4 separate regions of the Homo sapiens genome follow, and all the other regions are linked to region 3. Evidence: promoter capture Hi-C in 16 types of primary human blood cells and fetal thymus (Javierre and others, 2016). All regions are on one chromosome and are shown on one strand. The core of a region is centred on a gene start or on the middle of the fragment in contact, and the rest is flanking DNA. Distances in the headings are between cores, read along the strand shown. Region 1 overlaps EPHA6 (EPH receptor A6). Region 2 holds the start of LOC101929298 (a long non-coding RNA gene). Region 3 holds the start of TBC1D23 (TBC1 domain family member 23). Region 4 holds the start of RIOX2 (ribosomal oxygenase 2).

Region 1 (6,539 bases), core at 1,451-3,950, 2.5 Mb before region 3:
TCAAATAATAATACATTGAATATTGGACTGCCATAGCACTTTAAACATATTAATAAATTATCCCATGGATAATAAAGAGATTTTTTTCCAGCCATCATTAAATATAAAAATAGTATATATAAAGATGCATAAAAAAGGAACTTACTTGATACCGTCTTTTAGCATCAATTTATCTTGTTAAGCAGTTATATTAATTTTACACATACTCTTAAATGCTTAAAAACATAGTACTTACATATTAATTTTATGTGATATAATATGTTTTGATCTCTAAATGCTTACATTCTTTCAAGAAGATTGCCTTCTCTTTCCAGTTGTTTTAAGTATTTTAAAAAAGAGCCATTGTATTTTTTATATTTCCATTCAGTCTCATTATGCTTGAAAGTTTCCAACTCTCAAATAAGTTGAAACCAAGTGTCATAGCACAGTGGCTAGAAGTTATTCTTTTTGAAGTTATTCTTCTTTTATTTAATATTAGTCTGATATCCCCTAAAATTTGCTAGAGAAAGCAAACTCTTCTCATGAATGGAAATACAAAATGAAAATTCTCCACTGGATGTTATAAATTCAAAAAAAGAACATATATTTTTTATAGTTACTTCTCACTACTTACTGCTTATTCAGTTTGTAAAATCTTACCAAGTAGGATACTTCAAACAAGAGTGAAAAGCTACTCCATTTACGTGTAATCTGCTTATTTTCTTCAGAGTTTCCAAAAACCTTTGAGAAAACAAAATAATCGTTTTCCCTACCTTACAACCTTGATCACTCTACCATTAAATGCAATAATAAGGTATCTATAATATAACAATCAAAAATATCAGTCAAAGCTTAGTGTTTACCTCTTTAAACTATATAACAAATATAACCGTAGCAACAACAAATTAAAGGAGATCATGTCTCCTTACTGGTCCAAAATTGTATAATTCCTAAATTTTCATATATATACATATACTGACATACCTTTAAAATATATTTATCTGTAAGTCCATTCACTCCATTCAACTGTTTATTGAACACTACCATGTACCATTGTCCTGTTCGAAGCACTGAGGATACATGGTGACCAAGACAAGCAAAGTCCCTGTCTCATGGAATTGACCTTCTAGTGATAAAGACACACAATGAAGAAATAGTGATGTGCTGTGCTTATAATTAAAAATGTTACATAGCATGACTGTGGCTCCTTTAAGCGGTAGAGGAAATCTTCCCCCAAGGACATGCCATTTAAACTGATATCTGAAAAGCATGAAGGAAGCATCCATGAGAAGATATGGGGGAAGAGCATTACAAGCAGAGGGAAAATTTAATGAATGAAATTACAAGCAGAGGGGGATAGTTAATGAATGAAAATTTGGAGTGTTGGAGAGTAGAGAACAGTGTTCTTGGTACACTGAAATGAGGCAAAAAGAGGAGAAGGTATACGCATGAGGCTACTGGAGTAATTCCAGCAAAAACGTGGTGGATTCACTACTTCAAGATTTGGAAGGCATCAGTATATATATGCTATTTAAAGTTTGGAAATCACCTAGGAAAAGCCTGTGGAGGTAGGCCTAGGATTGCACTATATGCTATTCCAATGTTTAATAGGCAGATAATTAGAATTAAACAGAAGAAATGGAGTATAAAGTAAGCTAGAGAAAAAGGAAATGCAGTTGCTCATCTGGATTAAATGCTTTTAAGAAGTCAAGATTAGAACAAAGACATGTCCATGGGAATTAGCAACATGGAAGTTGTTGTTGTTGATGACCTTCACAAGGTCATCAACTATGAAAATAGTGGAGTCAACTATCAACTATGAAATAGTGGAGTCAAATCCCAACTGACATGGATTAAGGCGAGATGTAAAGGAAGGAGGTGAAATCACTATCTATAAACAACTCTCTCAAAAAGCTTTGATGTAAAGGGAGCAAGAGAAATAGGATAATAGCTGGAGAAAGGAAGTCAAGGAATTGTCTTGTTTTTTAAGGATGCTACAGCATATTTATCTACTAATGAAAATGACTTGGCAGACAGGGGAAAACTGATTATGCAAGAGAGATGATAATTGTAACAAAGGCCTTGAGAGATAGAGGGGTTGCGATTTAAAGCATAAGTAGGGAGGTTAATTTTTGATAGGTGCCGGAATATAGAACTCCAATGAAAGGAAGGCAGAATGTGTAATGTGCAAATAGGTTGGTATATTTGTGGTAGAAAGGGAAGGATGTCACTACGTAAGTTTTTTTTTAATTTTACCAAGAATGAGATAAAAGCCAATATGCAGGATGGGAAGGACGTATAGGTTGGAAGAGACATATGTAAGTAGTTGGATAGTAGGAAAGTGAATATATATTTGATGAAATATTTTAAAGGCATCTTTACTAAATATTTTTGAGACATCTTATTGGAAGACCCGAAACTTTGAATTCTGTGGTTTCCAAGGACTCTGGTAAGAGTCCTTTCCATAATGTAGAGATTGAGAACTTCTCAATGCCATAAATACTGTTTTCCTTATTTTCATCTATTACAGATTAAAAGGCAGAAACATTTTGTAGCTAATCTGTTATAATGCAAAGCCTATCAAACTTAAAATTAGCTTAATCCTGAAAGATGTATATTGCATAATCAACCTGTCACTTTTTTCAAACACGATTTGGGAGGGTATTGAGGTCCCATGTAAATTTTAAAATAAAAGACAAACAGGAACTAATCTTTTAGTAAAAATTATTTTGTTTTCATATAGGAAAACAATGCCTTCTGTCATTTACGGAAAACACATGGGCAATATGGTTGGTTGTTCATTGTGCCCCTCTATCCTATAGGAAGAATGTGATCTTTTAATTGTGCTTGGTGCTTTGTTTCTGGAGATATATATATATATATTATATATATGTATATATACCATATGTATATATACATATGTATGTGTGTATGTGTGTATATATATCTCTCTAGGTTGTATGTAATTCAATATGTTGGAATTTAAAGATGCATTATTATTTGGATTTGATGTGAAATTAGATTGTGAATAATGGAGATTGCTCTCCATTTTTTGCTGTTCTAGCATAGCCAAAAATATAAAGATATAGATGTACATATACATATGTATTTGATTAAACACTTTAAATTTTAAATGGCCGCATCAAATTTTAAATGGTAGATGATATCAACAATTGCAGTGCACTCAAAATGTTATAAAATCTTTGTAGCACAAATCCTGAAGTATATGCAAACTAAATAGCATATTTATATAAAATACCTAGATAACATGTCTAGGTTGAGATATTTAATCCCTCATAGAGCTATATTTGACTAATAAAAAACGACAGCTAAAAATAATTTCCCTCCCTATAAGTACAAATATGATTTTTAAAGCATCATTGTAACTTGTCATGAAGCTATTTATTATTAATTAAGGATTTAACTCTGTACCCATCTGCTCTTACAAAAGGGGAAAAAGATTTATCTATGAGAATAGGGAAGTATAGCACTGTTTTATGTTTTTCTCTTTAGTATTCTGTCACCATTTAAAGCTTCAATATATGCCTTCCACTCAGGTTCCTGACACAGCCTACATTCTCTTTTCTGGTTATAATCACAATATGGTAGAGCTATAAACAAGGTAAAAAGGTGTTAACAATTGAACTGCAATCCTACCTATTATCTACTTTACTATAGCAGTGAAGTAGTCCAGACTTATTTGAAGGTGGTACTATTTTTATCTTACAAAAATCTACTATAATATTAATAACTTTCCATGTAAATTTTCATGTGCTGGCATGCTTACAAGTTAATAGTGTTATAGAATGCTCAGCTCTCAATATGAGGGGTTGTTTGTGGTGAATTGCATAACATATGTCATCTATTTGCTGAAAGAATATGCTGTTTAGCAAACTACCTGCTGAGCAACATAATAAGATTTTTGTACAAGGTACAAATTACTAATTATTGTATTTTATTTTTCTATGATTTCCTAAGAGGCATTATCAGGGTCTTACAGATGGAGTAAGCCTGTTTATTAAAATATCTATTGGCAAATAAAAGTTACAGCTTTGGTGGTTGAATTTGTGACTTTTTTGTATTGTTGTATTTATGCAGATCTAATGCAATTTATTTTTTGGTCTAATAAATCTAGATGCTGTTTAGATAATTTAGTAATTCTGGATGCAAAATCATAGTTGTAAATTTTTTAAATAATGTCATTAGGTTTAGACATAAATTCACAGAAATCACTATAAAAAACTAGTAAATATTTTTGTAGCGATTTTATATTGGAAAATATTTTGTGAGATTCAAGTAAATTAAAGTGTTCATTGCAGAGGCAGTACTGCACAGAAATTGCAGATGAAAAAAGGGTACACATAACATCAACTGTTGAAACACAGCTTTAGACCAAAGTTTACACCAAAAAGTTGCAGTAAGTTATAAATCAGGGATTATCTATATTCTTTTAAAAGTTGCTGGTGAGAAAATAACGCTAAAGTATCCTGAATTAATCAGAACAGTGCTGTGTTCATTATATCTGACTCTTTTCTTTTTTATAATTTTCTTACTACAGTTCTAAAAGCCAGTATGAAATTAAAACTGGTGAGAAGGTACCTAAAATTATCTTCTGTTATGGTTAAGTGGCTTTAAGAAAATCACGTAGCATTTTTAAAGCTTGTTATTGTCATAATAAAAAAGAGTCAAACTAACTTCTTAAATCAAGCGAAACAATTGTATCTCAGCCTCTGAATGTACTCGTGAGAGGAGTTTCAGTTGACAAAGCACCAAAACAGCAGAATCAACCATATGAAATATTTATATGTATTTATTTTTAATAGAGATGGGGTCTCCAACTTCTGGCCTCCGGAGATCCTCCTGCCTTACTTAGCCTCCCAAAGTGGTGGGATTACAGTGTGAGCCAGTGTGCCCAGCCTTTATGTTTTTTGTTTTGTTTTGTTTTTGAGTGCAGGGTCTCACCCTTTTGCCCAGGCCAGAGTGCAATGGCACAATCTCAGCTCACCGCAACCTCTGCCTCCCCGGTTCAAGCGATTCTCCTGCCTCAGCCGCTTGAGTAGCTGGGATTCCAGGAACGTGCCACCACACCCGGCTAATTTTTGTATCTTTAGTGGAGATGGGGTTTCACCATGTTGGCCAGGCTGGTCTTGAATTCCTGACCTGGTGATCCACCTGCTTCAGCCTCCCAAAGTGCTGGGATTACAGGCGTGAGACACCGGGCCTGGCAGCCTTTATGTTTTTTTAAGTTTAATATTTTCAAGGCTAACATTTTTTTCTAGATTATTTTACTGCTTTATTTCATAACATTTATCTCTAGTAATAAGCCATCTATCAACTATACTTATCTAAGATAACGATTTGACTAGCTACATTTTTGTAGAAGAATTATCTATCTGCCTTGTTTTCCTGAAAAGTTGGATGCTCAATATGTCCATTTTATTTCCAGTTTTCACCAAATGTTTTATATTAAGCCAAAAGAGATGAACTCAACCTAGAGGCAGAAAATATCAACTTTTAGCAGGAAAAATTGAGTCTGTCCATGAAAGTTTTCTGAAATATAACATTTCTGCCGATCGCTAAGAAAAAAAAATGTTATATTTTGGCCGCAAGCACATTAGCTTCCATCTCTTACAAGTAAGTCACAACACCCAGGCACACAGAAAAGTGTTCAACACCTCCCTGTCAATGCATTCACGATTAGAAGTTCAGAAGTTAAAGAACCACCATAGTTACGGTTTGGGTCAATTTTGTTTACACAATAAAAAGCTCAAGACAAAAGAAGACAGGACATTATTTATTGAACAATAAATATGTGCCAAACATCTGTATTTCTGTTATCTTTAATACTCAGAACTACCAGATAAGATAAATACTATATTTTTGAAGGTGAGGATAGAAGCACGGAGAAGGGTAAATTGGGCTAAGACCACACAGTAAGAAAGAATGTATTTCCATACTCCATTTTTACAAGGACATTTATATGTTGATATGCATCCATAGGGTCTTTGTTTTGTTTTTGTCTTTCAACAAGAATCACTAATCCAGAGCCGCTTTTGTTTTTTCGCTGTAAAAATGACAATTACATTTGGAAATTTGGAGAAGTGACAAAAGATAAATCACCCCATAATCACACGCTTACAACCGTCCCCCCTACCATATTACTTTGAAATAATTCCTTCTAGTCTCTTTTTGCACCCTCCTAGTCCATTTAATAGGCCAAATGAATTGACAGGCCAAAGAACAGGCAGTGCAGTAAACATACACTAGCTAGTTGAAAAGGGTCGCGCGGTGGGGGGCAGGGGGTCGGAAATCCTACACCCATGCAAACAAAAAAAATGAAGAGATACAAACCCCTATTTGAAGAATGAGGCCATTCGCTGGGGGTGAGGTTAGTGGAGTTGGGCAGATTGAAAGGCTAGATCTTTAAAATGACTGCATCTGTAATGTGTCCGTTGGAAAACGCAGTAATAAAAGATGTGGGGAAGGGTATGCCTAAATATTTTCTATTTGAAGACCATTTGTGACTATGACTATAAAATCCAAGTGCAATTTAAGAAGGT
Region 2 (6,536 bases), core at 2,407-4,906, 2.4 Mb before region 3:
GCCCCATTTTTAAGAAGTAAAAAATTATGTCATCTATAGTAACATTTGGTTTTATAAGCTCCATATGGATTTTTTTTTGCTACTACCTTTAGCAATATTTTTAAATAAATTTTTCTGGAAGTTTGTTAATGATACTTTCTTTCAGAATGGAGTAAGATTTCCATAGACATGTCAAGTTTATATTCAGCACTATGTTCATCATTTCATCACTCCAAATTGTAATCAAAGTGAATAGATTTCTATTTTATTCTATGCAAAGAAAATTCATGTACAGGAAATTACGTTAATCTCAATTTTAGATTAGGTAAAGTTCCCATGTGAAAACTGGTTCATTTTATATGACAGCATGTAGCATTTCCAGCTGCTTTCTCTCCCTAATCAAAACATTTGCTCACAAAAGCAGCTGCCACTATGCCTTGTTTTTAAACCATTTGCAAGAAATCAAACTGAGAACAAAGTACCCATAGTAAGAAAGCTCTAGCTTCTGGGACATGTATACTATAAAACGTCACAATAAGATAAAAAGGAAACCAGTTCACAGCCACTTTTTCTGTTTTGTTTGTTTTGCTCCAAAGCTTTGTTTCATAAAGCCCTAAGAAACAAAACTTACAACTAACAGTAATATAATGCAGTCTAGAAATTTATAAATAATCATTCTTTATGGAATACTTTTAAAATTGTATATCAGAAGTGCATATTACAGTGCAGAGTTTATGAAGTCAGATGAAATATTTTGGGAAAACAATATAGAGGATGAATTTCTCATCTAATAGTAAATTATTATTCTGAGCCATTATCTACGTCATGCTTATGAAGCTCCATTAATAAAACTTAATATCTTACATATGACCTTATATTTTAGATAGCATTTGACTTAGATAAAAGACACATCACACTGAATTGGTGTGAACAACTATTTTGGAACACATGTTATAATCAGTGTTTGTCAAAGACATGCTACCCCTATTTATACATTTTTAAAAGTACGTTTCAATATTAGCAAATTTTGTGCTGTTTGAAAGCTATATATTTAATTTTTAATGTTAATGTTATATTTTTGTAAAGGACTAATTTCTCTTTGAAGTATCATCATATCAAAGGGAGAAAAGTGTAAATGTAGTTTAGGTCAGACTAACACATTTTACTTAATTTAAGCATTAAAAGATGTGTGTTCGAAAGATCTCAATCTCCACATGTTCCGCAAACAAAAACCAGACAAACAATACAATAAAACATCATGCATCTCATAGAAGTTGGAATAACCAATTACTTAAAAATTTTACCATCTGTTCTCATTGAAGCAGCAAGACAGGCATTTCCCCATGTTACAAACCATGATAATTAGAAAGTAACAATGAGAAATGCTAACATCATTTTTCCCCTTTTTTATTTGCTGTGGGAGTTCTTAATGAAAATTTGAGCATATAAACAAAGGAAAAGAGAAGATATTCCCCCCACCCCACCTCCTAATTGAGTGCTTATATTCAGTAATAGCTTTTTGCTGCCCTGGGCCGCATGACACTGCCTCATTTGGCCACGCACAGCTATTATTCTAGGAGGCAGCTAGTGAAGTGCCCCAATCCATCTGCTTGCTTTTTCATGGGCTGGTGCTTTCCTTGATGTTGACAGCTGTCTTAATATTCCTGGGCCACCTGCCACACAGTAAATACTGTGCTCTAAGATATATACAGAAGCTTATTCCCTGGTGGACTTTTCAGAACAAAAACGCTTAGCATTACTAAACTACTCTTGCAGTTTAAATGCTTCAAGGATCAACACTTTCATTCTATTCTCATACCTTTGAGAATGGTACTTACGTTGTGGGAATGGCAATTCAGTTACAGTGTGATGAACTTCAGGATTTCTCATATATCACACAAGTTATTGAATTACAGTATTATAGGTGGAAATCAGGTGCTAAAAGGAGGCAGAGAAGAAGAGAGCATATTAACAGTTATCTCCTCTAGTGAGCCTTCCAGGAACCCTTCAGATTAAGTTGGGGATCCGTCCTATGTTTCCCATCTTACCCCATTTGCTCATCTTGCCCAATTAAACTTGCTCCTTGATGTTAAGCATTTGGTCTTATCTATCACCGTATCTCTATGTCTAAGAATGAGCATGTATCTGACACATAGTATGCACTAGAGGACATATCCAGGTTTTGTGGGATCTGAAGTTTTTACAATTTGGAGGGTCCTCTTTAAAGAAAAAGGATTTAAAAGAAAATTAGATATAAAAATGAATATATTGAATGAAAACATAAACCATGCAAATTACTAATTTTAAAAGGTTGACTAGAAAAACAATTTGTTTTCTTACTAAATGCCTTGCACAATCACTTTTTTTCCTATATTTTTGGCAGTGTACTCTTCAATAGCCTTTCATATGACAATAATTTAGTAATATTATTTTCCATAATAATGAAAAGATAATGCAATCTTTCCTCTAGTTCTGTTTTTCTTATTGATAGAAAGGCTGTGTAAACATGCAGTACTACACACACACACACAAAGCTTGTGGTACTGCTACAGGTTTGTACCCTACAAACAAGAATTCTGATAAATTCTATTTTACATGGTTTACATCAACAAGAAAAAATGTTTTGTGTTTACAGTTATAAAAATTATTTTGGGTGGCTGAGACGGGTGGATTACCTGAGGTCAGGAGTTCGAGACCAGCCTGACCAATATGGTCAAACCCCGTCTCTACTGAAAATACAAAAATTAGCTGGGCATGGTGGTGGGCGCCTGTAGTCCCAGCCACTCTGGAGGCTGAGACAGGAGAATTGCTTGAACCCAGGAGGCGGAGGTTTCAGTGAGTTGAAATTGCACCACTGCACCCCAGCCAAGGTGACAGCGCCAGACTCTGTCTCAAAAAAAAAATTAAATATACTGCATTATTGAATATATTATTGCTATGAGAGAAATTACATCAATCGGAGGCAATCCTTCCTGTTGAAACTTTGTCTTCTGATGCCTGGAATAATTTTCCACATGACACCTGATGCTGCTTTACCTTTCAAATCTTGTCTCACCTCTATTACCCACATATTTTCAGTGTCAGAGACCACAGAATATATCTCCTCTGGCTCTGCATCTTGGGTGTAATACTTGGTGAGCTGCGCTACAAACAAATTGGAATTTAAGAAATAACTATACTTTGGAGAGGCTGGAAACCACATAAATATATTCCACTAAGTCCAAACTAAATATATTCCCAACTGAAATTCCCTAGCAGATTCCCAAATGCTCTTGATAACTCTAAGTGGAAAAGAAAATCTAAGTGGACATCTAAGTGGAAAAAAAAAGAGATTGTGGTCTTAATCACATTAAAACATTTACTTTTGTAAATTTGATAAAACTGGCCATGGATCCCATTGCTGAGTTCACACTGGAAGAGACTGTGCCAGCAGGGAGCCAAGAAACTTGAGCCTCATCGGCTTCACTGTAGATGTGCTTCTACTGCAGGCACTCACTAAACGTCGGGGAATAACTGGATCAGTGAATTAATGACACTGTGCTAAATTAGTATCTCTAAGATCCTTACAGCTCTAAAATTTGACATTTTTACAGGCTTCCTAATGCAATCTTAGAATTTAGTATTTAGAAATTTGTTCATATGAGTTCAGGTTATAACAATGTAGGACATATAGAAAACTAATAAGTGCTCAGAAAGCAAATGAAGGAAAATTCAATGGTCATTGTTTTATGACTTTAAGCTATTTTGTCATAGACGCAATTTGTCTTAGTGTAAACATGGCATTATTTGTATTTACCATTCACTTAAGTGCTTTGCTGTGCTACCGAGTGGAGATCAGAGTATTGTTAGATATATTATTAGTTAAAACCATAATTCATTAATTAAATCCTATTGACTCCCCCCCATTTTTATTCCAAGAAAAACTTCCTGAACGAAGTACCCTCTGGGTAGGCACTGGGGCCTGGTTTGATCACAGAACAAGTCAGGGACAAATGTGATAGTCATTCAATAATACGTTGGGAAGACAAATTATCATTTGGGCCTTTTAGCTGGAAGAAACAGTTTGCTTTATTACTCTCTTTGGGCTTTTTGGTAAGTGGGTCTTCAGTGGAGATTCTCTTATAAAATAATAAAGCTAGAATTGGGAACTTGTCTTATTCTAGTCTATTATCTTAGTCTTTTTCTATTTTCTCAGACTAGGCTCACAGAGAAATAGGAAAAATTTACCAAAGAGTAAAAAAGGATTAATCTTGAGGGATAGACTGAGATGAACCCGATTGATGGAAATCGGGCTGACTGAACTTTAATGGGTTAAATCCTGCCAGAACAAATGAGAATGAGTGTCTTGGCTCTATTGCAGTTAGTAGGAGCTGGAGGGCTTCTGGGAGGCAGCGTGGGGAGGCAGGGAGGCTCAATAGCCTCCAGCAGGTGCTGAAAGGACTTGGGGCTTATAGGTATGCAATCTACTTATGAGCAACCTTCTCCTCCAGCACCCGAAAGCCAGAGGGGAGATTACTCCAAGGCTCCCCTCTGCTGTGGACATTTCATTTTTATCTCATTTACTTGTATACATTTTTTAATGAACAAAAGCCATATCACTTCCTTGACGTCTACTCCAGGGGCAGCTTGCCTTCAAACAAAAACAAAACACTTGGGGTGAATGGGCCTCTCAGTATCTCCTGTACTAGCTGCTATAGGGTATGAAAAACCAAGAAAAATCCATACCACTGTACTTAGACTTAAAACAAGTCTTAAGCACCCTTTGGTTCCCAGATTTCAGTGGCATCTGTGTAACGACTGCAAAATATGTTGCAGCATTGACAAGCTTGAAATCATACTTTTTGATCAGTGCCGTTTTTGAAAGAGTTCGCAGGGAAGTATGGCGTGTGAAAAGTCTGAAGCACAGCGCGGTTAGGAAAAGTCACACCACAGAAAGCCAGCAGAACGCGCCGGGAGGTGGTGACCGCCTGACAGGTACCCCCTTCTCCCTCCCGCCGCCCGGTTCTGTGCTAACGCGACTTTCGCCCTCAGGGTTGGAGCTGTATTTGCGGTAGCTGTTTCTTAGCTCCCAGCAAGTCCGGGGCGCCCCGGTACTGCAGTTTGCCAAGTGTTTTCACAAACCTTAGTTCATAAACCTCTTTCAAAAGCCCGAAGAAAACCGTTTCTGTGCTCTGACTGTAGAATAGAAAACACAACGGTCACAGAAAGTAATTGAAGGCAAAGCCCAACAGGCTGCAGCCTGAACTTGTTTGAGCCGTAAGCCCGAGCCTAGCGTCGCACGCTGGGCGACTCCCCTCAGGCTCTCAGGCCGGCGCCTTCGGGGGACCACGTAGCGCCCCAGCGGTGGCGGCTGCGCCCGGCTCAGGGCGGTGCCGCGGCCACTGGCTCCTCCTCGGGGTGGGGCGGGCCGCGCCGGGCGAGGGCGGGAGGAGGAGCAGCCGCAGCGGCGTGAGGAGCTGCCGCGCGAGGAGCGCGTCGCGTCCGCACTTCTCCTGCCCGAGAGAGACTGAGCCGCGCTGGCAGCTCGCGTCGAGTCGGTCTGCCCTAGCCGCATCCCGCGGCGCCCGGTCGGGCTCCGGGCACCAGGCAACACCTAGGCCGTTCCCTTCAGACAGCCCCGGGCCAGCGGCCCCCTCGGGAAATGTCCAGCGGCCGCAGAAGGGGCAGCGCCCCCTGGCACAGCTTCTCCCGGTTCTTCGCTCCCCGAAGTCCTTCCCGGGACAAGGAAGAGGAAGAGGAGGAGAGGCCGGGGACGAGCCCGCCTCCAGCTCCAGGCCGGTCCGCTGCCAGGTGGGAGTCGAGGAGGGGGTCGCGGGGGGGCCCTGCACATATTCGCGGGATGAAGGCTCCCGGCCTGACCGCCGGCAGCGGGCCGCTCTTGGGCCAGGCTGCAGTTCGCTCGCCACTTTCTGTTCTCCTTCCTCCATTGCTAAAGTTTCCTCCTCCTTGCCCCGTTCCCGTGCCGCACTACTCGCCTCTCCTCTGCAGGTTAAATCGGGGTGAAGTTCTTGCCCGGCAGCCGGACGCATATCCCCCGATCCCCGCCTGGCTCCGCGCTCTTCCTTTCCCACTTTCCCCTGCCCGGACGTGATTGGGTTCCCGTTCCACACACGCTCTACTCTCCAAGTTCTGTGGCAAAAGCGATTTCCCCGGCGTCCCGCCTGCAGTAATGGGAAACACTTGTGAGCCGAGCGGAGCCGTCGGCCAGGGGAATTGGGGGCGCGATCCCAGCACCACTTGTGTGGGAGGAGATCGGGGCAAAAGTGGAAAAGGTAAAGCTTTGGGGCGTCACCCCCTCAGCTGGTATTTTTGCCATCTTATTTAAATTTTCTCAAAATGATTTTTAAAAGGAATTGTGATAATGCGTTCCCAAGACTTTCACCAAAATGGACTGGACATGTAAATGACGCCACCCTTCTTTATTTCTCATCTCTCCTAGAAACATCTGCCTCAAGTTCCCAAACAGATTCTGGAAATCAGGTTTCCAGCTGTCTTGGTTTCAGTAATCAAAATGTACCCTTTCTCTGTAATATTTTTATCTTTCCTTCACTTTCCCA
Region 3 (6,643 bases), core at 3,779-6,278:
GACAAATGGGCTTTCTCTCTGCTGACAGATTATCACAGAATGCTTTGAAAATATTAATACTTTTTAAAATAATAAATGCTTTGAAAATATTAATACTTTTTAAAATAATAATGTTTTTTATGGCAACATTATTGTTATAGTAATAATGGGTTGGAAATGGAGATACAGGAGTTACCAGATTATAAGTGAGAATTAACAACAGAGAATTTATTATTGTCCAGAAAAAAAGTGTGAGCAAAATTATAGAGAATAAATTATTTATCCAAACTTTTGGATGCTTTTGTATCTGTAGTCACTTTTATGTTCATGATATCCTAAGAATTCTTTTTGTTTACTTTTGTATTTTCCTTATGTAAATTTGAGATGTGAAAATGACAATGACAAGCTGTACAATTTAGCTTGGGTATTAGAGAAATCAGCTTGTAAATAACATATCCAGATAAATTGTAATATATACCTATATTTTTAACACAAATTGTCAAAAGCGTATATCATATAATTCCATCCAATTACCTTAGATGATTCCTTGCTAACTATTTTATTTGGCAACACATATATATACCAAAAAGGAAGGGTGAATACAAGTGTATAAGGCAAATGGAGATAAATTATACATCAAGAATAGCACTGCCATTGTCTGAAGGATACTATTTTCAGATTGTGTCTGTATGTGTGTGCGTGTCCTTAGAGCCGTTAGTTCATGAAACAGCAGGAAGTTCAGTTTTAAAAACTAAGGCTAGTTCCAGCTAACATATTGTTTACTATCCCTATTTCCAACCAGGAATTACTCAACCCCAATAAAAGCCTTTTGCCTGGAACATTTGGGAACAAAATTGGAATGAGCAAAGGGTTAAACAGACTCCCACATTAAAGCACAAACATCTCAAACCTAAGAATGGGTCAATCCCTATCCAAATGTTTATTTTGGGTCCATCTATAAAACCTATTTAGAGTCAACTTCAATTAGAGAAGATGACTACTAGAAGGATAATGCAGAAACAGAGTTTCCAGCTTTTTTTTTTTTTATCAGTTTGCTCAACATTTTAAAATGAATTAAAAGCAGATGTTGAAATTGCTGCCAACTGTTCACTTGTCATCTGTGAATGGGAATTAACTGGGTTTTGTTCATCATTCAATCAAATGTTAAGCTTCAGTAGTTTAAAGAGCCTGGGAATGCAGGTCCTGATGGGATTTTAAAACGACAAACAACTGAAGTAATTTTGATAAGTGTGAAACCATTTGTCCTTGTAAGATAAAAAGGGAAATTCTTGGGAAAGTTTAGAATTCTGAAACTCTCACACAATAGCTGCAGAAACAAAAATCAATATTTTGTTATTTAACAAGAACTCTTAAGCACTATCTATATGTTCTGCCCTGCATTTGGTGCACTGGAGGCTACAGGGGAACTTAAAAATAGTTGTCATTCTCAGAGTTAAAGAATATAAGATGCTGTAGTGCCCAGATGAGAGTGCCTGTTGATGGTCCTAAACTAGGTCAGAGGCGACAGAATGTAAGAAGGGCTGAGATGATATGAGCAGGAATCTCAGGGGAAAGTTTCACTGAACAATGAAGAATGTGTAGGATTTAATATTACTTCATGTGGCAGCCAGCCTCTGAGATGGCCCCCAGTGATTCTTGTCTTTGGGTATTCAAGTCTTTGTTGTGGTTCCTTCCCACATTGAATAAGGCTTACCAATAAGATATTGCAGAATTTACGACTTCTGAGGGTAGGTAATAAAAAAAATGTTGTAGCTTCAATCTTGGTCTCTGTTGAACTCTTACTCTGCGGGAAGCCAGCCACTATGTCAAGAGGATGTTCAAGCAGCCCATGGAGAGGCTCATTTGGGGAGTATCTGAGGCCTCCTGCTAACAGTCAACACCAACTCATCAGGCATGTGAGTGAGCCACCACGGAACTGGATCCTCCAGCCCCACTGAAGCCTTTAGATGACTGCATGACTGCAACCCTGGCCAACATCTTGCCTCTGACCTCAAGAGACCCTAAGCCAGAACATCTAGCTAAGCTGCTTCTAGATTCCTGATGCACAGAAATTATGAGTTAAGTGTTTATTGCTTTAAGACATTGAGTTTTGGGGTAATTTGTTGTGCAGCAGTAGATTAAAACATCTTACTAGGTCTTTGTCTTTATCTAAGAATGCACGAAAGTCAAGAAAAGGCTGCACGAATATGGAATAAATGATCAAGAGCTATGTTATTTCTCCATCTCTTTTTAACAAATGCTAAAATAATATTACAATGAAAACTGAATTAAATTCTACTCACATAACAACTATGACTATGCAGATGAGTTCATAATCCTTACCTGTCCCTGAACCCAACCAGCCATTTCTATATAGGTGAATAGCTTAATCCATTACAAAAGTACTACAAAAAATTCCCTAGTTCATTTTACAAATATTTATGGAGATTCTACTATGTGTCATAGGCATGGTACAAATTAAGTACATGTAATACAGTATAAATTACATAATTATATGGCTCAGAACACCAAATAATAAATGAAAAATCTTTTTATGTTCTCTATAATTTAATTTAAAACTAAGACATTTTAATTTTCTTGTTATAAGAAATACGCTTTGATTTTATCCAAGGATAATATGAAATAATACACCTTCCCATTTGGATGTGGGAACTACAATTAGATGCACAAATGCAAGCAGGGGACGCACTCCAAGATTTCATAATGAAATCTTCTCTAGTTCTTGAAAAGCATTTTTGTTTTGTTTTAAGCAGAGGTCCATTATTAGAATTTAACAAATTCTACTTGAGGGAGTGAGGCCCTGTCTCAGAAAAATAAAAATAAAATAATAATAAAGAAAAATGGTTTGGCCAACATGGCAAAACCCCGTCTCTACTAAAAATACAAAAATCAGCCGGCCGTGGTGGCACACGCCTGTGGTCCTGGCTACTTGGGAGGCTGAGACGGGAGAATCACTTGAACTTAGGAAGCAGAGGTTGCAGTGAACTGAGATCATGCCACTGTACTCCAGCCTGGGTGAGAGTGAGATTCTGTCTCAAAAAAAAAAAAAAAAAAAAAAAATCCGCTAGAAGACACTATCGCTAAACAATTTTGGTTGAAATCTTGTCCCCAATGGGTTATACATCACTAAGATATTGACCCTATCTAGAACTGGCTCCCTAATTTGTGAGGCCTAGTGCAAAATTAAAACCAGTGGCTCCTTGTTCCCAAATTATTAAGAATTTCAAGATGGCAACACCAGAGCATGAAATCAAGCACAGAGTTCTTCTAAGCATGTGGTCTCATGCTATTGCATAGACTACATGCCCATGAAGCTGGCTCTGGCTCCATTAAAGAACATAGAAGTCAGAACTTTCCACTTTATTTTGACAGAATAAAGAACTGTTTAAAAATGTCAAGTGACATATTTTTAATGGGAAAATATTTTACCAGAGACTATAAAGCAGTTGCTGATTTAATTATACTCAAAATGAATCATAATTGAGGACTAGAATCTTCTTAACCAGTGAGCAACTGCTTCTCATGTCAATGACTGAATAGGTTTTAAAACCATTTTCTGAAAAGTTTCTGAAAATCTACTGGCAACAATTGAAGGGACCCAGGGGAGGTCCTGAATATTAGAATGGTAATGTGACCTAGATTCACGTCTTTTATTCTTTTTGATAGAGGGCATCTACAGTCTCATTCTATGTTAAAAGAAATGTTCCCTAACAGAGAACTGAACATTACAGAGATCCGGGCCTTGGAAGTGGGTGCAGTACCATGCAGATCTGTATTATTTCCCTTTAGGGAAGAGAGTGAACATGTTTTTGGTTGTAAATGAGATAGCTGTACTGTTTTGTATCTATTTAAAACAAATAGTTTTTGAAACTATGAAACATTTTAGATACCTAAGTATAGACTCTATAAAGAACACTGGCCACCTATGTGGCCACCTTGGGGCCCTTAATAAATATTTAAAAATTCATGGAAACTCCTCCCTTTCCCTGAATGTAACTGCCATTCCGAGTTTTCTATATATCATTCTCCTGCATTTTAAACTCATATGGATCTATTTTAAATATATTGTCTTTTAAACACCAACTATAAATGATACCATACTTTACCTATCCGTCTGCAATCTGTTTTGCTCATTTAACAGCGTATTTTTCAGATGTATCCATATTGTTACATGCAGTTCTACTTCATCACTGTTGTTTTCAGGGCTTGCAAAAGCGTTTCTTTAGGTCCATCCTCCTGAGCGTGTGCTCACCCCAAGGCCCCGGCGGTGGCCAAGTGTCCGCCCATGCGGTGTAAAGGGGAAGTGGAACGCGTAGAGAAGGATTTTGGCAGCTCTGCTTGCCTGGAATTCCAGTCCTAGAATTCTAAATTCGGACTTGATCTTCCAGACTGTTAGGAAGATATATTTAAGGTAGGAGGCTAGAACGTATCTCCTTTAGTATATAGCTTCATTTACAACTTTTAAATATTCAGTCAAAAAGTATGTGGGCCTTCATTTACACTTTTGACGGGGCCTCACAAATAGGGGTGGTCTGCCCCTTTCCTTACGTCCCACTCTTTCTTCAAATTAAATTGCTACAGCAGGAAATTACTGAACTGTGGCTCTTCTCCTACGTCCGCCTTCCCTATGTCAATTCCCATTTCCCTTGCTTTCTCCAATAGTTAGGACTGTAAATTCTAACTTTGTTAATTTCGACGCCAAGCTGGAATGAAGACGCTAAGTGGACGCTAAAAAGACACGCTGTTTGTCACACAAGGCCTCCAACTGGGACGGCGTCCACCGCGCCCCGCCCCGCCCGCGGCACCGTGGCATCTTGGGACATGTAGTCTTTGGAGGGGCAGCTGCCTCCACCAAGTCTCCTCCCCCAAGACGCTGCCTTTCGGCCTCGGGACGCCGTGACGTTGCGTTCCTCCAGTCCCTTGCCACCTCCCTCTTTCTTCCCCTCTGGGGAAGCTCAGTGCTGGACTTCCGAAGACCTTTTACGACATTGAGTCTCGGAGTTGGTCTCAGCGCCGGATCCACTTTTCGGCAAAGTGACGTGGACGTCAACAGCAATGGCGGAAGGAGAAGATGTGCCGCCGCTGCCAACGTCGAGCGGCGACGGCTGGTGAGTGAAAGCCGGGGCTAATTTCCAATGCCCCTTTATTCTTCCTTCTCACCATCTTGCCGGTCCCCGAGGAGCCGTCTGGCGTCGGCATGGAACGGAGAGGCCGGTCCTAGGCGAAGTCCGGTGCCCTGCCCTACCCCTCTGCCAGCTGGGTGCCCCCTGCCTGCCTGGTTCTGCCCAAGGGACTGGGGCGGGACTCCCAAGGAGAGGGGTGTCATCCAGGTGCTGGGCCTCAGAACGGTCCTCCTGTGTCGTCTGTCAGTCTCCAAAGTGTGCTGGAGTGGGTGGCTTCAGGGCTGGGTTTGGCCGGAGTCCTGGCTGTGGGAGTTGGAGTAGGCTGAAGAAGGAAGTTTGTTGGATGCAGATCTGAGTCACTAAAATACAATGTGAAGAAAAGACGTTTTGAAATGACCACTGCGACCTTCGCCTGAGGGTTCAGAGGTTGACCCGAGGAGAATCCCTCCCACTTAGTTGGTATACTTTTTTTTATTCTGGCTGTTATCTCGTTTTGCATTCCAACAGTTTTCATCGTTCGTCTCCTTCACGCAAGTCATCTTTTCCCCTACTACCACATTTCTCACAGCTCGATTTCTGAGCTTTGGATGCAGTGTGGGACTTTGCTCTTACTGCACCCAAGCTGTTGCATGCTTACCTGATTTATACTCGGGATTGTGGGGGAAGACCGCCAATAATTTTTTGGTAAACTGCTCACCCAGTGTTAATCTTTGGGAAAGGCTTCTACTTTTGAAATAGTTGATCTCACGATACACTGTTAGGTTGTACAACATCATTTTTTAAAAAGGGACCTTTAGAGGCTTGTCTAAATTTTACAGTTGATCTAAGTGTATTGACCACATGTATTAGTTTTGGATTTGCTTGTTCGTTATATTGTATGTGTACAGCTCATGGGCACTTTAAAAATAATACAGGACATTGATAGACATCGACTTTAATCCCAGAGGAAAAAAATGGAAATCGTTGAAAGGGATAGATAATTAGTAATTAAGAAATTCAGCTCTCCATTAGCAGACATCAAACATTACCGTAGCGCTGGGCTCTCCAAGGTGTCAGAGGAAAACTTCATGGTGATCTAGATATAGTTTTTTTTTCTTCAACTTGCTTATGTTGGAGTTGGGAAGGTGTAACAAGGTAAAATTAATCTTATTCTTTGTGAGTGTGATTCAAAGTGTTACGAGAGGTTGGCGGTGGGGGCTGGGGCAGTTGGAGTCACTGGGGGAAAGCTTCATGAAAGCAGCAGTGTTTCAACTAGGCTTTGAAGAATAAGTAGGATTTAAGCCCCAGGGCTGTCTAATAGAAGCCACATATTGTAATTTAAAATTATGTAGTAGCAGCATTTAAAACTGAAAAGAAGGCTGGGCGCGGTGGCTCACGCCTGTAATCCCAGCACTTTGGGAGGCCGAGGCGGGCGGATCACTTGAAGTCAGGAGTTCCAGACCAGCCTGACCAACATGGTGAAACCCCGTCTCTACTAAGAATATAAAAATTAGCCGGGCGTGGTGGCGCGTGCCTGTAAT
Region 4 (6,914 bases), core at 3,055-5,554, 2.3 Mb before region 3:
AGCATGTGATCTGGTCATGGCTCTGAAGCCTCCATTTAGATGCAGGCAGTAAAGGGAAGCAACTTCGGGAAAAAATGATCACCTTGATGCTGTCATGCCTTAAATTACAGTGATGTGACAAACCAAATAGAAATGTCTATCATATAGAAAAACATAAACTGGCTCACAGAACATACTCCTGCAGTTGTAGTGCCACTTTAACAACTTTATAAACTTGCAGTATAATTAGTTTTGCAGCTCAATGATACCCAACAATGTCTACCCTGAGTTGCTGGAGTTTCTAACAGTCCAACCAAACATAACACATAATCTTAATCCTAGTTAGAATGCATTTAGACCAAAGAGGTGCTACCCCTTCTCAAACTGGCAAGAGACTAACCATCATCAAACTACGTATTCACCCTTGAGCTGATATGTGGCCAAATGTTAGTACTTTAAAATGTATGAGGATTCTGCAATGGGGAAACTGGTTACCTTAAATCTCTGAGGTTGGTGAAACTGAATCGTTGCCCTTTTCTGATCAAAATCTTTTCTCAGCTGAAGAAAGTGTGCTTTGCCATCTTTATTTAAAACCTTCTTCTTCCCATTGACACACCGGCAGACATTCACATCTCTTCCATAGTACATCCCCCGGCTGCACAGACTCTTCAGATCTGTTAGCTTGAACAGGGACCCATAGTATGTGGCCAGTGCAGGGTCATCTCTCTGAATGAGAAGGGGCTTCTGCTCCCAGAATTCCTTGAAAAAAGTCTCTGTCTTGATGGGCGAGATTAAACTTTCAAAGAGACTACTGGGACTGTCAAAGTTTAAAGCTGAAGGCCCCCCAGCTGCTTCTAACTTCATCTGCTTACAGGGAGCCGGCCCCTCTTCCTTCCCACTCCCTGTAGGCTTTGCTTTCTTTGGCATCGTTCTGTCTTCAAGACAAAGCAGTAAGGAAATGCAAACCTACCAAAAGAACAAAACACACATGGTTAGGTTTACAAGGAGTGCCAGCATTGGTGTTAGTGGATCGCGCGCACACACAACTGAATGACCATTACACCTTCGTGAGAACTCTTCATAGGTCAAAGCTACTTCCCCCAGGATAGGAGACAGCCTTAAGCCAATGCCATTTCTTCTAAGATATGATTCAAGCTCAACCACCACTCAGATGACATATTCATCTAAAGAAGAACGTGTTTTTCTTTTACACAAGCACTATGTCATGGTATTATTTATTAGGCAGTATAATTATCCCAAATAAACCTATTCAACTGTCTCAGCAGTTCCTACTCACAGGTTTAGCCTGTGGCCACTGACACAGCAAAGTCAAATATCTTGGATTTGGCTCCCATCAGCATCAGGGCCCACATCTAATTAGATGTACTCTGAGTTACAAACATTTGACTAGAGAAAAACTAACAGCCGCCCACTGCCAGGTGCTCCTCACCGCAGCACCACCCCAACTGTTGCGCAGGTCAATCAATGCGCCCTGGACCCGCGGTGTCTCCTGGTGGCTGGAGCAGGCCACTGCCTTCTCCTGTCTCCACTAACCACCTGAACCTGCTCACTTCCAACTCTGAGCTTATTCCTGAAAACGGCCACTTTTATCAGAAACTCCCCTTCGTTTAAAGAAATAAAGCCCCTAAAGGCTGAAAAGTGAAGGCTAAAAGTAGTTATATCTAAAGCCTTGAAAAAACTATAACTTTTTAACTGAAGATTTTAAATAATACCAATATCATTAGCCCCTAACACAGCACTTCTCCAACTTTAATGTGCACACAGATCACCTTAGCATCTCAATAAAATGCAGGATATGATCCACTAGCTCCAAGGTGAAGCCTGAGGTTCTGCATTTCTAACAGGCTCCCAGGTGATGCTTCTGCTGCTGACACTGCTGAGTAGTCGAAGCCACACAGCCAAGCCTTGCAAAGCTCCTTCAGAACTGCCTCCAAACCACAACTATTGATACTTAGAGGGTAGGTTTCCCTCATCTGTTTCCAAGAACTGTAATTCAAATTATTTAAATTTCCTGAGACTGCAAAATTCTATCTTAAAGTCCTTTCCCTCTGGGAAGGGACTCCATCACTTTCAACAGATTCTTAAGGAAGTCCCTATCTCCTGACAAGGTTAAGAACCACTGTACTTATAAAAACCAAAATTTCTGAAAGACTTGTTATTTATAAATGGTATAGTTTCCTACTTTGGTGAGTTATCAGAATTGCAAGAATACTGTTTTCTGTTCTTTTGTCATTATAACTAAGCAGTATTTCAGCTACACTGTAGACTAAGTGGAATTAATGTTCTGGCCTGGGAAGTAAGCATCCTGGAACGATGTGTTGCATACTGTGTGACGTGTTGCAACTTATAAAAGAAACTTTAGATTGAAACCCAGATGTAAACTGAACAAATTAAGAAAGGAAATGTCAAAATATAAAACCCTCTAAACAGCTCCATTCCTTCAAAAGACCAGGTGCTTTTGATAAGGAAACACAGGACATGGTGGAAGACTAACACAAACTGATACTACAGGAGAGGGGTAAAGCTTGAAGCTTAGAAAAAAAAAATAAACTTTAGTGTTTAGGATATGTGGTCAGTAAGACACATTTTCTGAAAATGTTTCCTTTAAGTGAAACAGACCAGCTTGAATTCTCCAGGAAAGAATTAAGGCTTCAGGAAGGCACAGCATTGCTAGTACATGGAACTCTCAAGTGATGGAGAAATACAAAGAGATAGAAAAATGGATTCGGGAAGGGGTACTGCTTATGCAGAAGACGTTCCATAGCAGGCCTGACTGCTATCCTTTGAAAGTGCAGCTTGTGGCCGATGTCTGAGAACTTAAGATTTTGGGAGAGTTTCCACCACCATTAACTGATAGGAGTGGCTCACCATGCCTAAAATGTACAATCATTACAGTTTATACCAACACCTGCTTTCCTCTGGGAGTCTGGAAACGTTGGTATGTGCCAGGCAGGGGTGGCCTAAGTGAAAAGCCCCCAGTAAAAGCCCTGGGCACTGAGTCTCTAACAAGCTTCGCAGGTTGGCAACATTTCACAAGTGTTGACACAACTAGTTGCTGGAGCAACTGAGCACAGCCAGTGTGACCGCTCGAAGACCCTTGGAGCCTTGCACTTGGTATCCCCAGAACTTCACCCATGTGCCTCTTCCCTTTGCTGACTGTGCTTGATATCTTTTCCCTGTAATAAATCAGCCGAGTCCTCCTAGCAAATTGCTGAACTAAAGATGGCCTTGGGGACCACAGCACATTGCTCACGTTTAATTTTTAAAAACTTAGATTGGTTTATTAGGTTTGTATTACTAAAGGCACCCTATAGAGTCATTTTATATTCAGCCACACATCTCTTATCTCTCACAATTGGTCAGTTTAAAATTCATTTAAGGGGAGAGAGCAGGAGGAAGATGCAAACGAAAAGCTTTTCTTTAAGCATAATATATGAATACAGTATAAGCACATTCACCAGAAAGTGTGGCTAATCAAAGAATGCAAAACACTTAAGCCAAAATAAAATCACTTAAAAGAATCTTTCCCATCTACAATCACTAACAAACCCCAATACTGTATAACAAATGCTTTCCTTAGAATATAAATTTCACTACCCATACTGCCAAAAGTTACATCATTTGTTTCTCTGTGTTCATGTTGAAATGATTTGAGGCTCAGTTAATTGGAGCCTAAGCTTAGAGGTTTCTGGGCAAATACATTATTTCTCTGATTCTCACACTACTCATACTGTAAGACAACCATTCCTCTTAACAGCTTTCTAGAGCAGAGGGGAGAATAGATGAAGCATCCTACCACATTAAACATACAAAAGTCTTAAGGTACATATCATAATTTCGGAAACAGCAAGAAGTAAAACACATATCTTAGAATCCAATACTATAGTAATTAAAGAAGACAATGCTTTGTCTAGAATAGTACAGCCAACACAACCTTGCCCATAAGCCTTAGAGACCACCCCAATAGGAGTAAATATTTCTGTAAAATCACAGAAAAGTTTTTGAAGAGCAATTGTTTTCCATTTGAGTTGACTATAAGCATTAAATGTAAAAAGACTAAAAGATTTACAGTTCATACTTTGGTGACTACCCCACAGATAAACCCTATAAGAAAATCAATGTTGACAACCATACTATAGGCAACAGACAGACAGTCACTATATTTTAAAGGTACCCTAACCTCCTTTTCTATAATATTTGAGGACATGAAGACGTGAGGAAGCTCTTGAAGGAAAGGATTTGTATATCCCCGGAAACAAGCACGGTGTGGTACATAGGAGGTCCTCAAGAAATGTCTGCTGAATTTTTCACATTTTCATCTTTTGTCTGTATACAATTTTGGAGACAAACCACAAAGGCCTTACACAAAACAGTTACGGAAAAAACAGATGGCCTGTGCAGAGGGGATTATTTTTCTGATTGCAGCTGTCACTTCAGGATTCAAGAGTATCGTAAAAGCTAAAAGGCACTTTAGACATCAGTAGTTATTACTAAATCGGGGAGGGAAGTATGAATTTCTACATCCCCTGGGCAGTTTTACAGAATGTAGTTCAGAGTTACCAGCAAGGTTGTTAGCATGCAAATTTCTGGGCCCTCATCAAGCCCACTGGATTGCCACTTCTGATGGCTGAGGCCCATAATCTGCATTAACGTAATACGCTCTCTAGATGAATTTTAGGTCCACTAATGGAGGACAACAGTCAAACGCAGCTCAGTTAAACACACGGCTGTCAGAAATTATATATTGCTTGTAACAAGGTTGCCCAGACTGATCTAAAACATTTCTTTTTGGCTCAGAGATATGTTAATCAATCCAGAGGGAAAACTGGTTCTCCTATTGACCTAAAGGAGTGATCAGCAGTTATCTTTTTAGTCTGATTTTAGAGAGGAAACGGACTATACCTCAATGTATTTTCGTGACCATGAGGTTACAAAGCTTGATGTCCAGGAGGCAAAAACCAGTACCAGCAGAAGAAGCTGAGTAAATCAGGTTCCTCTGCTCAAAGATGAGCCCAGTGACATGAAACCCGAGGCACCAGATTTACAGCTAATGAGTGGCGAAATCAGATCCTCTTCCTCCCAGTCTATCCTTCCTGAAAACAGTGAATAACCTGGTCTCAGTAACCTGTTGGACAACCCAGCTGTCGGCCAATCGTTGCGGAATTATTTGCTGGTAAATGAATTGGAAGCATATGATGTAATGCAGCTGCCCTTCTCCCCACACACCTGAACTTCAGATTTCACAGCTGTAGAGCGTGTCTCTTAGGCCCGACATGACGCCCGGCGGCGCAGCCCACGTGGAAGCCGTGCTCGCACAGGCAGTTCTGCCACCACCGGGCGGAGGCCGGCACCACCCTCCTTGCTAAGCCTCCAAACTTTCCGTGCGCTCGTCACCGGTGTCGCGACCATTAGCAGGCCACGTGTGCGACTCTCTGTAACCAAGGCTTCCGCGACCCTACCCCTAGATCCGGGCCCCACCCACCCTGCCCCAGTCTCCGGGGAGGTGGGACGCCTGGGAGCGCGTCCCAGGTCCCGCAACCACAGCGCCGGCCACCGAGGCTTCTCGCCGACCGACAGGTCTCCCAGACCCGCACCCGAGCCCGGGTGCCTAAAGCAGCAGCGCGCGCCCCGCGGGATCGGGCACTACCCGGCCTGCCCCGGCGCTGGGATGCCCACGAGAGCGCCCCACTCACCCGGCACGGCCTGTTGCTCGCGGCCGCGAGCCCACTGCGTTGCGGCGCAGCGGCTGGAGGCGGGGCAGCGTGGGCACGCTCCGGGCCGTGCTCCAGCCCCCGCCCCGCCCCGCCACGCCGGCCCGCAAGTGGTGGCAGCCCGGAGGCCTGGCTACCCGGCGGTGTTCCGCGTTCACGCCCGGGCGTTTCTTTAGTCCATATGGAAGGAAATAAATGGCCTTTTTTTTCCTCTTTTTTTTTTTTTTTTTTTTTTTTTTTTTTTTTTTATGGTATGTGAGACAAGGTCTCACTCTCGCCCAGGCTGGAGTGCAGTGGTAGCGATCTTGGCTCACTGCAACCTTTACCTCCCGGGCTCAAGCGATCCTCCTGCCTCGGCCTCCCAAAGTGCTGGATTATAGGTGTGAGCCACCCACCCGGCTCTCCTTTTTTTTCTTTTAACTTGGGGCGGCAGGAGAGGATTTGAGAGAGCGTTTTGGTGCAACTCCGTTCCTTTTATGAATAGAGAAGCAGGCCTGAAGAGGAATACCAGCGGTGCAAGTTTAGGGAGTTGGTGGTCCGGGTTCTCCCATGGCTTTCTTATGGGCTGTGTGGCTACACAATGCTGATTTGTACAAGCCGAGTGTCATTTATATCATCTCGCTCCGGGAGAGAGAGTCAATCCTAGTTTTAAAAGATACTGGAAATTCGTTGCGACTATGGCTATAGAAACAGAAGAAATGCAGTTATCTGAGTCCTTTCAGCCTAACACTCCCTGCTTTGGAACATTTGGTTCCAGTCAGGAGGCACAAATGAGGGAGCAGGGAAATCAGTGGCGGGCCTGTGCCTTTCTTTGCTCTGTAGACAGCCAGAGGACCCAGAGGAAGTCGACATTTCGTTCCGTCAAGGTGACTGAGACCAGTGGCTGCTTCTAAGGATCAAGTGGCACATGAACAAATGGGAACAAAGTACACCCTTGTCTAGTATTTGTCTAAAACTAACAATAATAGCAAGTCTTGAATTGAGTTCTTCCTGGCTATAAGGCACCACGCTAGGTGTTTCAAATACTCCTCACTTCATCCTCACTACAACCTTGCAATTACCTCCATTTTACAGTTGAGGAAACTGAGTCAGGAGAGGTTAACTAACTTGCACAAGATCACACAGCTAGGAAGATGCAGAAACAAGATTAGAGCCAAACCAGTCAGTCAACTGTTGGTCTTTTTCACGTTTTACTAATACTCG

What was found. Contacts are between HindIII fragments. The CHiCAGO score rates a contact against its expected background, and 5 or more counts as called.
Region 1: a fragment that was not itself captured here is called in contact with the fragment with the promoter of TBC1D23 in region 3 in 1 of 17 cell types (non-activated CD4 T cells); the score reaches 9.6 in non-activated CD4 T cells.
Region 2: a contact is called between a fragment that was not itself captured here and the fragment with the promoter of TBC1D23 in region 3, in 1 of 17 cell types (non-activated CD4 T cells). The highest score is 5.3, in non-activated CD4 T cells.
Region 4: a fragment that was not itself captured here is called in contact with the fragment with the promoter of TBC1D23 in region 3 in 1 of 17 cell types (non-activated CD4 T cells); the score reaches 6.3 in non-activated CD4 T cells.

Annotation. Positions count from the first base shown.
Region 1 is chr3:97,757,490-97,764,028 of GRCh38, forward strand. EPHA6 (EPH receptor A6) reads left to right here. Exons shown (of 18, transcript NM_001080448.3): 18 at 1-4,043. It overlaps LOC124906256 (a long non-coding RNA gene), which reads right to left and starts at 728. Exons shown (of 5, transcript XR_007095973.1): 1 at 640-728. The HindIII fragment of the contact is 1,619 bases long and covers 1,892-3,510 here.
Region 2 is chr3:97,816,587-97,823,122 of GRCh38, forward strand. LOC101929298 (a long non-coding RNA gene) reads right to left here and starts at 5,190. Exons shown (of 3, transcript XR_427389.3): 1 at 5,101-5,190; 2 at 1,818-1,917. It overlaps CRYBG3 (crystallin beta-gamma domain containing 3), which reads left to right and starts at 5,425. Exons shown (of 22, transcript NM_153605.4): 1 at 5,425-5,769. The coding sequence starts at 5,621. RefSeq lists a silencer at 5,202-5,571. The HindIII fragment of the contact is 2,291 bases long and covers 2,512-4,802 here.
Region 3 is chr3:100,255,964-100,262,606 of GRCh38, forward strand. TBC1D23 (TBC1 domain family member 23) reads left to right here and starts at 5,029. Exons shown (of 19, transcript NM_001199198.3): 1 at 5,029-5,108. The coding sequence starts at 5,056. RefSeq lists enhancers at 4,433-5,101, 4,837-5,326, 5,102-5,770. The HindIII fragment of the contact is 5,201 bases long and covers 1,147-6,347 here.
Region 4 is chr3:97,966,688-97,973,601 of GRCh38, forward strand. It overlaps RIOX2 (ribosomal oxygenase 2), which reads right to left and starts at 5,744. Exons shown (of 10, transcript NM_153182.4): 1 at 5,694-5,744; 2 at 475-945. The coding sequence starts at 906. It overlaps LOC124909398 (a long non-coding RNA gene), which reads left to right and starts at 5,966. Exons shown (of 2, transcript XR_007095976.1): 1 at 5,966-6,914. RefSeq lists an enhancer at 4,959-5,218 and a silencer at 5,489-5,928. The HindIII fragment of the contact is 1,259 bases long and covers 3,676-4,934 here.